3 separate regions of the Homo sapiens genome follow, and all the other regions are linked to region 2. Evidence: promoter capture Hi-C in 16 types of primary human blood cells and fetal thymus (Javierre and others, 2016). All regions are on one chromosome and are shown on one strand. Each heading gives the region's core, a stretch centred on a gene start or on the middle of the fragment in contact. The rest is flanking DNA. Distances are from core to core; before and after follow the strand shown. Region 1 overlaps NFKB1 (nuclear factor kappa B subunit 1). Region 2 holds the start of BDH2 (3-hydroxybutyrate dehydrogenase 2). Region 3 overlaps NFKB1 (nuclear factor kappa B subunit 1).

Region 1 (3,463 bases), core at 865-3,364, 520 kb before region 2:
TGATAAGGATCTGCATAAATATTTGTTGAGTGAATGAATCTCCTTGGTAAAGTCCTTTTTTGTTTGCCTGTTATATTTATTGAATAGACTTCTTTGTTTCATGTACTTTAATTTCAAAAGTGAATGGCTGGAACATTTTATATATTTTCTTATAAATCATTTTCATTGCTTTTTAAGCTTATCACATATTTTGTTTTATAAATATGTAGCCTTCGTGAGATAAAAGATTCTCCATCCCTGTTTACGTGTATACTTAGATGACAACTCTAATGGTCATAAATAATTCCAACCTTATAGATAACTCAGGAGAAGATGAGATTATAAGTAGACTTTAAATCCCATTCAGAAACCCAAGGACAATTCAAAAGGAAAATAATCATTCCAAATATAATATTCTTCTTATTCTTAAGAAGTTGTTAGTATTTTGAATTTTGAATTTTTAATACAGCTCCCATAGAAAATACTTTAAAATGAACCCGGTAAGACTTCCTCATTAAGACATATAGACACATATGCTCCCACTCCCGTAATCAAATTTGGAAGTCAAATAAGCTCTGAAAACCAAAACATTCTTCCAAGTTTATTGCAGACTCATTTGGTAGTAAAAACCAATCTGACCTGATGTGTAGCTGTTTATAGTCTTTATTTTTCCATTTGGTGAGTCCAATTATATATTTCGCTGAGGAAATACTAACGTGTTTGACTACATTGTGTGCCCCAGACCTGCTTAGAGTATTATGTAATATGCAGTATAGGCCATATATTGCCTTTTTAACATCAAAAATACCCTAAATTCTGAAATGCATGTAGCCCCAAGAGATTTGTATAAAGCATTGAGGGCCTGTGTATTTTTTTTTAATTTACAAGTGAAGCCAGATTCCCTAGACATTAAGTGCCTAACTTTTGGTTGTTGTTGCTGCTGCTGTTACTGTTTTTTCTCCAGCTTCGCAAACCTGGGTATACTTCATGTGACAAAGAAAAAAGTATTTGAAACACTGGAAGCACGAATGACAGAGGCGTGTATAAGGGGCTATAATCCTGGACTCTTGGTGCACCCTGACCTTGCCTATTTGCAAGCAGAAGGTGGAGGGGACCGGCAGCTGGGAGGTAAGCATCATTTTCCTGGCCTTGATCCTCCAAGGGGTCCAGGCTTTGGTTTTCATCTGTATGAATTATATGTTCATCTGCATCCCTTCCAGTCTCTACCCCACACTGCTGTCACCTTTTCCTTGCTCAGAAACCTTTGATGGCATCCTGCTACTTCTAGGATAAAAACTATAGCTCCATAGCCTGTCATACAAAGCCCTGCTTCTCTGGCCCCAGCAACTTTCAGCCTCATCTCCAGCCCACCTTGCATCCTCCTCTTGCCATCTCTGCTCTCTGAATAACTGAGGCATATTTATACCTTTGTATGTGTCTTCCTTTACCAAAAACACCCCACCGTTTCCATTTCACCCTCTCGAAAACCAATGCAGAAATCAAGACTTTGTCTAAAGAACACCTCTGTTTTACCTTCCCCAACTCACCTTATTATAAGGCATTTTTCTTTCTTTGGGCTCTGCAGACACATTATAAACTATTATCTTTATCATAAAAATTGTATGATTTTCCATTTTCTTGCCTTTTCTCAAATTTTTTTTTCAACCCCATTCCCTGTCCCACCACATGCCCCATTTCTACTTTTGTATTTTGTCCTTTACTCTGGCCGTCCAGTCGTCATCTGATACTCATGTGATTCAAAACCGATTATCAGTTTTCCACTAAATATACTCCATCTTCTGATACCCAGACTCAAAACCTTCCCATCCTCACTGACTCCCCCTCCTCGCCTGTGCTGCGAGGCTGTGGTCCAGCCATTCCGTGCTCTCTGGCATTCCACACTACATTCCATTTTCATTGTTCCACTTATAGTAGTCTTCTCCCTGGTCTCTGTCCCTCCCCACTTCTAATCAAGTTTACATCTTGTAGCCAGATAGATATTACTGAAGTTCTGTATCTTGTTGCTGCTCCGTGTCTCCGTTTTGCCTACAAAATCCAAATTCTGTAAGTTGGCTTTTTGGATCTCCCAAGAGCTGGCCTCAGGCTGCATTTCCAATCTATTTCCCGTTTTGCCCCTTCAGGTCAAAGTCTACTACTTGGTAGGAGCACCATGATTTCTCACTTTCCTGCCTTGGCACATTCTTTCTATTTTTGCTCTCTCCTCTTCCTGGAATGCCTTTATCCACTCTCTTATATGAATGTGTTCAAATTCTGCCACCTTTTCAATATTCAGAGCAAATACCTCTTCTGCTCCAAAGCCCTCTGAACTCTCTCCTTCTTTGAAATCCCACATCACTTCATTTGTAGCTCTCTTGTAGTACTTGTCTCTTGAATCACTACCTTTTATGATATTATAGCTTAATTATGACTATATCCATCAGCGTGAAAACTCCAGCAGGAGGGAAGGAAACAGATGTCCCTGAGTCATTCAGTTCCTTCAGAAGTTGTTTTTGAGTACCTACTATGTGCCAGGCTGTCTGCTTGGCACTGTGGAATGAGCTCACTCCCTGTGCCCAAGCAGCTCTTGGAATAATTTGCACACTTCTCAATACAGCTGGTGCCTAGTAGGGTTATTCAATTCCATTCCATCACATCCTGTGTGCCTTTAACTCTTACTGTAGAGAGGAAAGGGAAAGGTGGGGGAAGGACAGGAGAGGAGGGAGGCGATCTGATACACGGAAGAGAGTTTTTACTGTAATCCGGAGAAAATGCAGGTCTTCTTTGATGCCTTTCATATTGGATGACATAAATGAGACTGTTTTTAACACTTTATTAGCAATATGAAGAGTTTCAAAAGAGGAAAAATGGGTTTTTATTGTAAGTTTACATTATTTGGGCTTTATAAAAGCATGGTCTTTTAAATGTTCACACTTCCCTGGGCATGAATGGACTGTGCTGTATGGCCCTAGATCGGGAAAAAGAGCTAATCCGCCAAGCAGCTCTGCAGCAGACCAAGGAGATGGACCTCAGCGTGGTGCGGCTCATGTTTACAGCTTTTCTTCCGGATAGCACTGGCAGCTTCACAAGGCGCCTGGAACCCGTGGTATCAGACGCCATCTATGACAGTAGTGAGTACTTCACTTCCAACAGGGGGCACACCAAGAATAGACTTCCAGCCCTGCCCTGCCATTTACTTGCTAGCTGAGTCCTGGGGAAGGTAACTTAATCACTTTAAGCCTCAGCTTTATCATCTGTAAAATGTGAATAGGAAAATCTAGCTTGAAAGGTTGATGTCCAGGTTAAATGAGGTATTTTAAGAGGGGCTCAATACATGTAATTCTTTTTCCTTTGATGTACATTTTTTAGTCTTTTACATGAAATGTCACATCTCATCTTATTTATGAATGTCTTGCTATAAAGATATATGGTTGATACTTTTAGAAGGGAGAATAATCCCAATTTTCTTTGGTGGTGGGGGGACTCT
Region 2 (3,523 bases), core at 49-2,548:
CCGTTACAAGCCAGTGCCTGAGCATGCATGCTTACTAAGGCAGACTCATTTCTGGGAGACATAGACCTCCTCCCCAACGGATGACTGGCTAGAGAAGCTCCTTATTACCTTGCTGAAGTTCTCTTAGACTGCACAGCTGTCTGGGATGCTTCCACTCAACCTGGTTTCCTTCTTTTCCTCCCTCGCGGGTGGACTTGCATCGAGGTCTGATGGCTCTCACAGCCTTACCTAGTTCTCTCCTCATTCTCTCTCACAACAGCATTTCCCCTAATAAAATCCATGCATATTTAATTCTATCTTGGAGTCTGCTTCTTGGAGGAGCAGACTAACACAATTATGTAAGAACTGGCTCCAGGGATCAGCTTATAATCACTGACTTCCTCTGAGTTTGTCCACATTTTTTAGGCGATGGGGAAGCTTGGCTTTAACAGTGCCTGACCTACTTTGATGCAATGAATTTTTGCTTTTTTACTTCTTACACAAAAGATAAACATGGAATGTTTATCATTTCAACATGGAATGACAGTTTCTAAAGTATAACTTTAGAAAGATATACTTTATCCTCCTTGAATCCTAAGCATGGTGCACAAAAGCTATTTTACAACACTGTCATTAGTGATATTGGGTGTATGGCCCTGTAAAGCCTCCAGTCAAAGGTTTTGCTAGGAATCTTTGCCAACCGAAGAAGCACTTCCAGAACAAATGCCGAAGCACAGAGCAGCCTTTCTATGCACTCTGAAAACCTCCTCTTAGCTGGCCTTCCTGTCTTTCTGGGACCAGATTTTGGGGTCAAAGCCTTAACATTTGATAAACTGTAATCTCAAACTAAAACAGATTTCTTTGAGAAAATGAGAGCAAACACGGCCTGAAATGGTAAAACAAGGCACCTCTCAATATATCCAATGTGAAAACCATACATGTTGGCTTCCTTAGTCCAAAAGTTAGAATCAAAATGTTGATTTTTGATTAGCAGAGACACAAACAGCATATTCAGGAAGCCATTGTTTTCAAGAGCCAGGAAGAAAACTCTTCACTTAGGATACCGTAAGAATCCTTTTTTCTTGGGCTACTTTATAAAACATACATACCACAGAGTTTCAGGCTCTTTAAAAACCCATCTTTACACTGATCTAACTGCTCAGATTAATTTTGAAACAGGCAACGTGCAGAAAAAAACAACATCTAAAAATTAAACCTCCCCTCTTTCCGTTCTAAAGTTTCATTTCAAAAGTATTAGGAAATCTTACTTTAAGCAGCGAGCTGATGGCGTTCTCCAGAACTCGGTTTGAGCAACAAACTTGAGACAACCTTTGTCTGGAAGCAAGTCAAGCGCTTAATAATGCATGCTGGGATTTGTAGTTTCCCTGCTTTCAGAGTTTAGTGGCTCCATCCATACACTTTATAAATGTATGTGCTGCCATCTAGTGGAATTCAGGTAGAACTATGAATTCCAAGTGGAAGGTGAAAAGTGGAAAAGCACCTTAGAGCTTACTTAGGATGCGGAAATCATTTCCTTCACTTCAGTCTCTCCACTTCTCTGTTTTGTTTATGCCTACTATATGCGGTGCCAGGGTAGACGAGATTGGCTGAGCTGGAAACTGCGTGTGGAAGATAGCAGAGCAACAAAATAGAGGGAACCCAGGTCACTGAAAATTCTGGAGCCTTCCTGTCACTTGGCCTGGATTGTTTTAAGGGAGAGAAATAAAAAAAAAAATCCTTTTTGTTTGAGATACAGTTGTGATTTTTATTTTTTCATGCTCAGAATATTCTAACACTAATGCACATTTAGTGGCAGAATGCCAGGAGCCTTTTACTACACTGGGAATGGGGTTGGGGAGAACGTGAAACTTGGATGACAGGGTGGAGGCTTAAAAGGGAACATGTTAACAGCGAAAAACCCCAGTTTGGCTGAAGAGAACAGAGATATAAGGTCAAAAAGAAAGGACTAGATCTCATGAGCCCTCTAGGTTAGGATAGCAACATGTGCTTTATCTGTAGTGCCAGTGAGCAGAGTGATTGTGTAGGCTACTTGTACATGTACTGTATAAATTGGTTTCCTCAGCACCCATCCAACTCACTTTCCCCTTTTTTCACTTGTCAAAGCTGGAAAACAAAAGTCTCTACTTCATAGCCTTGTTTGCTGCTAGGGGTGGCCAAGCAGCATAGATGTTGCCAATGAAATGCAGGTGGGAATTTCTGAGGAGGGCCTCCTTCTTAAATAGAAAAGTAAGCCCTTCTGAAAGGCTTTTAGCTTTTGCTCCTCCCTTTCTTTTTGCCTGGAATGAAGATAGGATGCCGTGGGACAGAGCAGCCATTTAGTGAGTTCATCTGAGGCCAGAGGCACACATTAACGACAGGGACCAGCAAGAGAAGGAGCCTGCGGCCCTGATGACAGCCTCAAGGCAACAACTCCTCTGGACTTCTTATGTGAGGACAATAAACTTTAGTGTTTTTCACGTTTTTTGTTACATGGAGCTAAGTGATTTCTAACAGTCACAGGGGATAAGAACAAAGACTGTGGCGTCAGTAAGACTAGAGCAAGTCCCATATCTCTCTCTCACTAGCTAAGTGAGTAAATCACTTAAATCTCTGAACCTCTTATGTTTCTCATCTGTAAAATGAAGGTAAAATAGCACCTACCTCAGGGATGTGGTGAGGAGGAACGACTAAGCCTGTGAATCCATCAGCACAATGTTTGCCACACAGGTGCTTAATACATGTTAGTGATTCTTATGATGAAGACATTGTTGGAGAAATTTAATTATAATGGATGGTAAAAGTTGCGCTTTTTAATGTTCTTTTAAAAACTGGACTTAGTTTCTGCATGTGTCTATATGAGGTCTATGGTAAAATTGTCCCTCCTTGTTCATTGTTTCAGCAACTTCTAATGCTGGCTCTAACAATCTGTAATCACATCTAGCTTTGTTCCTGCTTTACTAATAATGCCCTTTGACTTTTGAGGCTTTTGGAACAGACTTTATGAGAGTTCTCTAATCAAAGCCAACTCCAATGCTTCTTGATGTAGCTTTCTTCAGCATCCCTCTGTAATCTTCAGCAACAATGCTTACTTGATAACAGCCTAAGTCACATGGTATTGCAAATACTTGCTTACCCATTAGTATTCTCAGCAGACTAAATTTCTTCAAGGGTGGGGACTATGTTTTACACCTTTACATTGTGATTAGCTCGTATTAAAAGAGTATTAGTTACTTGTTTTCTTATCTACAATATGAGTTCCACATTGGTAGTGCCTTTCAGTGCCTAAAACAGTAATTGGCAGATAGTAGATGCTCATTAAATATTTGCTGAGTGAATGGCAGTTTCTTAATAAGTTTCCTGAATATAATTCTGCCAGGCTCTCAAGACAATGTTTGTGATAATTAATTTTAGGTGTCAACTTGACTGGATTTACGGATCCCCAGAGAGCTGGTAAGCATTATTTCTGGGACATCTCTGAGTGTTTCTGGAAGAGATCGGCATTGGAATCAGTGAACTGGGTAAGGATCTACTTCACCCAATGTGG
Region 3 (3,190 bases), core at 508-3,007, 540 kb before region 2:
CTCAGAGTTAGATTAGGGAGATGAACCCTGCCAAAGGACAGTAACCATTCAACAGCTGGATAGCCTGTTGGGCCCCACTGTCCTCAGCCTTTCCTAATGTTGCCTGGGAACACCACTTTTCTGCTCCCTCCTTTTTCAGTGTAGCCTGGAGACAATTATTTATTTATTCACTAGCTCTTTTAACAAATATTGATTAAGTAGGTACTGGTTCTGTTCTAGGGGTTGGAAAAACAGAGAAAATTAAATAGTGCCTTTGTCCTCAGGAAACAATCCATTTAATAGAGAGACGAAGATATGCCCTTAAATACCTGAATCACCAGCATAACCAGCACCTGCGGCTGCCATGTGGGAATTGTTGAACAAGATAATTTTTGAATGAAAGAGTAAATGACCTAATTGCTCTAATGTAAAGATAAATTTCTAAGAGTCGGCTAGTTGGGATGATTATAGAAGGATTCAAGGGAGAGATGTATGAAAGCATAGATCTAACGAGAGAAAACAGCACAGCAGAAAAAGCAGCAAAGGCTCAAAAGTAGAAATCTCTGAGATCGAATGGAGAATAGTAAATAATTTGCTGGAATGAAGAGCACGTGGAAGGCAAGGGTGGTAAGAAGGCTGGAGATAGTAGATAAGGCCAAATCATGCAAGGATTTAAACTGTATGTTTTTAGAAAATGGGTAAGCTATAGAAATTTTATATAGGAATGAGAAATTATCAGCAGCATTGTGCTTTAGGACTACAAATCTGGTAGCAATCTGCTAACTGATATTGGAAGGGAAAGGCCCAGAGACACTAGTTGGAAGAATTGCAGTGATTCTTCATGAGCTAAACTAAGAGTTCAAGCTAAGATAGATAAACTAAGGAATGAGAATGGAAGAAAGGGACAAACTGAGATTTTTGGGGTGGTACTCAGCTGAAGTTTGGCAACTGGTTAAACATAAAAGACAAGAGACAGAGAGGAATCCAAGATGAAAAGACGATTTTGCTGCACTTTTTTAGAAGGCAGCATTTGTATTTCCATTTCCAGGAGGTGGAGTAGCTTTGAGAAGAAAGGTGATTAGTTCAGTTTTGGGCACATTGAGCTGTAACGGTATTATGGACAGGAAGATACCCTACAAACAGCTGGAAATTTTGCACATGCTTAAAAAGAAGATGAGAACATGAGATTTCAATTTAGCCATCATCTGCATGGAGTAGACAATTCAATCCAGGAGACTTGATAAGAATGTCAAGGGAGTGATCACGATAAAGGTGAGAAATGGACTGAGCATCGATCTCTGCTGAAACATCTCTTTGAGCAGGAAGAAGAGTGCCTTAGCAAAAGCAGCCAGTGAAATGGGGAGTTGGGGGAGACTTTCAAGGAGGGAATGGTAACATATCCCATTCCCAAAGAGGTCAAGTAGGGTTGAGGAATAATAAATGGCTAGTGGGTTTGGAAACATGGAATCTGTCATGACCTTTACACACTTTTTCATTTGATGGATCGGGGGATTACTTACATTTGCAAAGGGCCTCAGATTAAGTGGTAATGGTTCAGCATTAGTAATTAGAGATTTTCTTATGTACTTTGTAGGGAGAAATAGAATGGCATTCAAACAGGTTTAAGTTCCTCTTAAGAACCTTTCTCATTGGATTGTAGAGAAGAGCAAATGAAAGAATCGTTCAGTATTTCTTGGTATCATGCCCAGCCCATAGGTTTCAATTAATGTTAACCTTTACAGTTGTCATCATCATTATCCAGAAGGGGCTTTTTTTTAGAATAAGGAAGAAAAGCAGTGCTCATCTGTAGACAAGGGAAAAAATCCTTTGGAAGAGAGAAAGAGAAGGGTAATTCAAGAAGATCAGGAATAAACATTAAGGGTAAAAACAGAATGGTTAGCCCTGGAAAAGGGAACAAACATGTTTCTCTGAATTAGGAGAGGATATGTGAAGTAACAGGGATGTTTTGAGCCTCAGTGACAGTAAGGAGAAGAGAGAGTGAAGGAACTTGCACGCAGTGACTTCTACCTTCTCATTAAAGTCAAGAGAGAATCTCAACTGCAGATATCTGCTTAAGGTAGGAAGAGAGAAATAAGAATTGCTGTCATTTATTTTGTGGTTTTGATATAGCAAAAACTGTACTAGACACTTTACCTCCTTTAATCCTCAGAAAACTTAGAGATTATATATTTGTATTCACATTCTACAAATGAGAAAGCAAGTAAAAAAGTTAAGTAACTCTCCCAGAGTCCCCCAGATGGTCATGGGAGCCCAGATTCAGAGCCAGCTATGTCTTACTCCAAAGCCTGTGCTCTTTATTGAAACATACTCCACTAGTTTGAGATCTTGGAGGTGTACCCCTGCACTACTATCAGGACTACCCCTGATAAAGTCCTGTGGGGTAGTTGTTCCTATCCATCACCACAGTGAATATCAAAGAAGGGCCCTCTCATTTGAGGAATAACAGACAGTGAAATTGAGATGGACCAGAAATGCAAATCCTGGATCCCTGAGGGAAACAACAAAATGAAGCATAGAGGAAATATCTGAGTCTGGTGCCAAGACTCATCAGTACAAGAGAGAATGCCTAATGGGCAATAGCAGTTAGGGTGGGAAAAGAGAAGTACAAGGGGGTGTCTTGGAATTTGAGGGAAGAACTGCTGCCTTAGTTTTCGAAGGATGATTATTCGAGAGTTGCCCTCCCTTCACTTTCTCACAGCTGGCAGAATTCCTACCTCTTAGTGGTTAGATTCCTTTTTACCAGATACTGTAGGGCCAGTGCAGCAACCAGAGCCCCCAGCCAGAAACCCTGCCTCCAATTTAGACCAGTGTTCTGCTCTGGTGTGTAATAATCATATTCTAATTTAAATAGCCTATTGAGATGCTACATTGATATCTAGCCTTTTTTTTTTTTTTTTTTACTTTTAAGTTTTATGTGCAGGATGTGCAGGTTTGTTACATAGGTAGACGTGTCATGGGGGTTTGTTGTACTAATTATTTCATCACTCAGGTATTAAGCCTAATATCTGTTAGTTCTTTTTCCTGGTCCTGTCTGTCCTCCCACCCTCCACCCTTTGATAGGCCCCAGTGTGTGTTGTTTCCCTCTATGTGGCAATGTGTTCTCATCATTTAGCTCCCACTTATAAGTGAGAATATGCAGTATCTGTAATAATGGGTTTTCTGTTCTCGTGTTAGTTTGCTAAGGATAATG

The links. Contacts are between HindIII fragments. The CHiCAGO score rates a contact against its expected background, and 5 or more counts as called.
Region 1: a contact is called between a fragment that was not itself captured here and the fragment with the promoter of BDH2 in region 2, in 15 of 17 cell types (total B cells, M2 macrophages, naive B cells and 12 more). The highest score is 10.5, in total B cells.
Region 3: a fragment that was not itself captured here is called in contact with the fragment with the promoter of BDH2 in region 2 in 1 of 17 cell types (total B cells); the score reaches 5.3 in total B cells.

The regions. Positions count from the first base shown.
Region 1 is chr4:102,575,933-102,579,395 of GRCh38, forward strand. NFKB1 (nuclear factor kappa B subunit 1) reads left to right here. Exons shown (of 24, transcript NM_003998.4): 7 at 944-1,107; 8 at 2,949-3,107. Among named protein-coding and RNA genes, the nearest start is that of NFKB1-AS1, 75 kb to the left of the region's middle. The HindIII fragment of the contact is 3,879 bases long and covers 176-3,463 here.
Region 2 is chr4:103,098,536-103,102,058 of GRCh38, forward strand. BDH2 (3-hydroxybutyrate dehydrogenase 2) reads right to left here and starts at 1,299. Exons shown (of 10, transcript NM_020139.4): 1 at 1,248-1,299. The HindIII fragment of the contact is 3,413 bases long and covers 416-3,523 here.
Region 3 is chr4:102,555,151-102,558,340 of GRCh38, forward strand. The region is part of intron 5 of NFKB1 (nuclear factor kappa B subunit 1); the gene reads left to right. Among named protein-coding and RNA genes, the nearest start is that of NFKB1-AS1, 54 kb to the left of the region's middle. The HindIII fragment of the contact is 5,146 bases long and covers 1-3,190 here.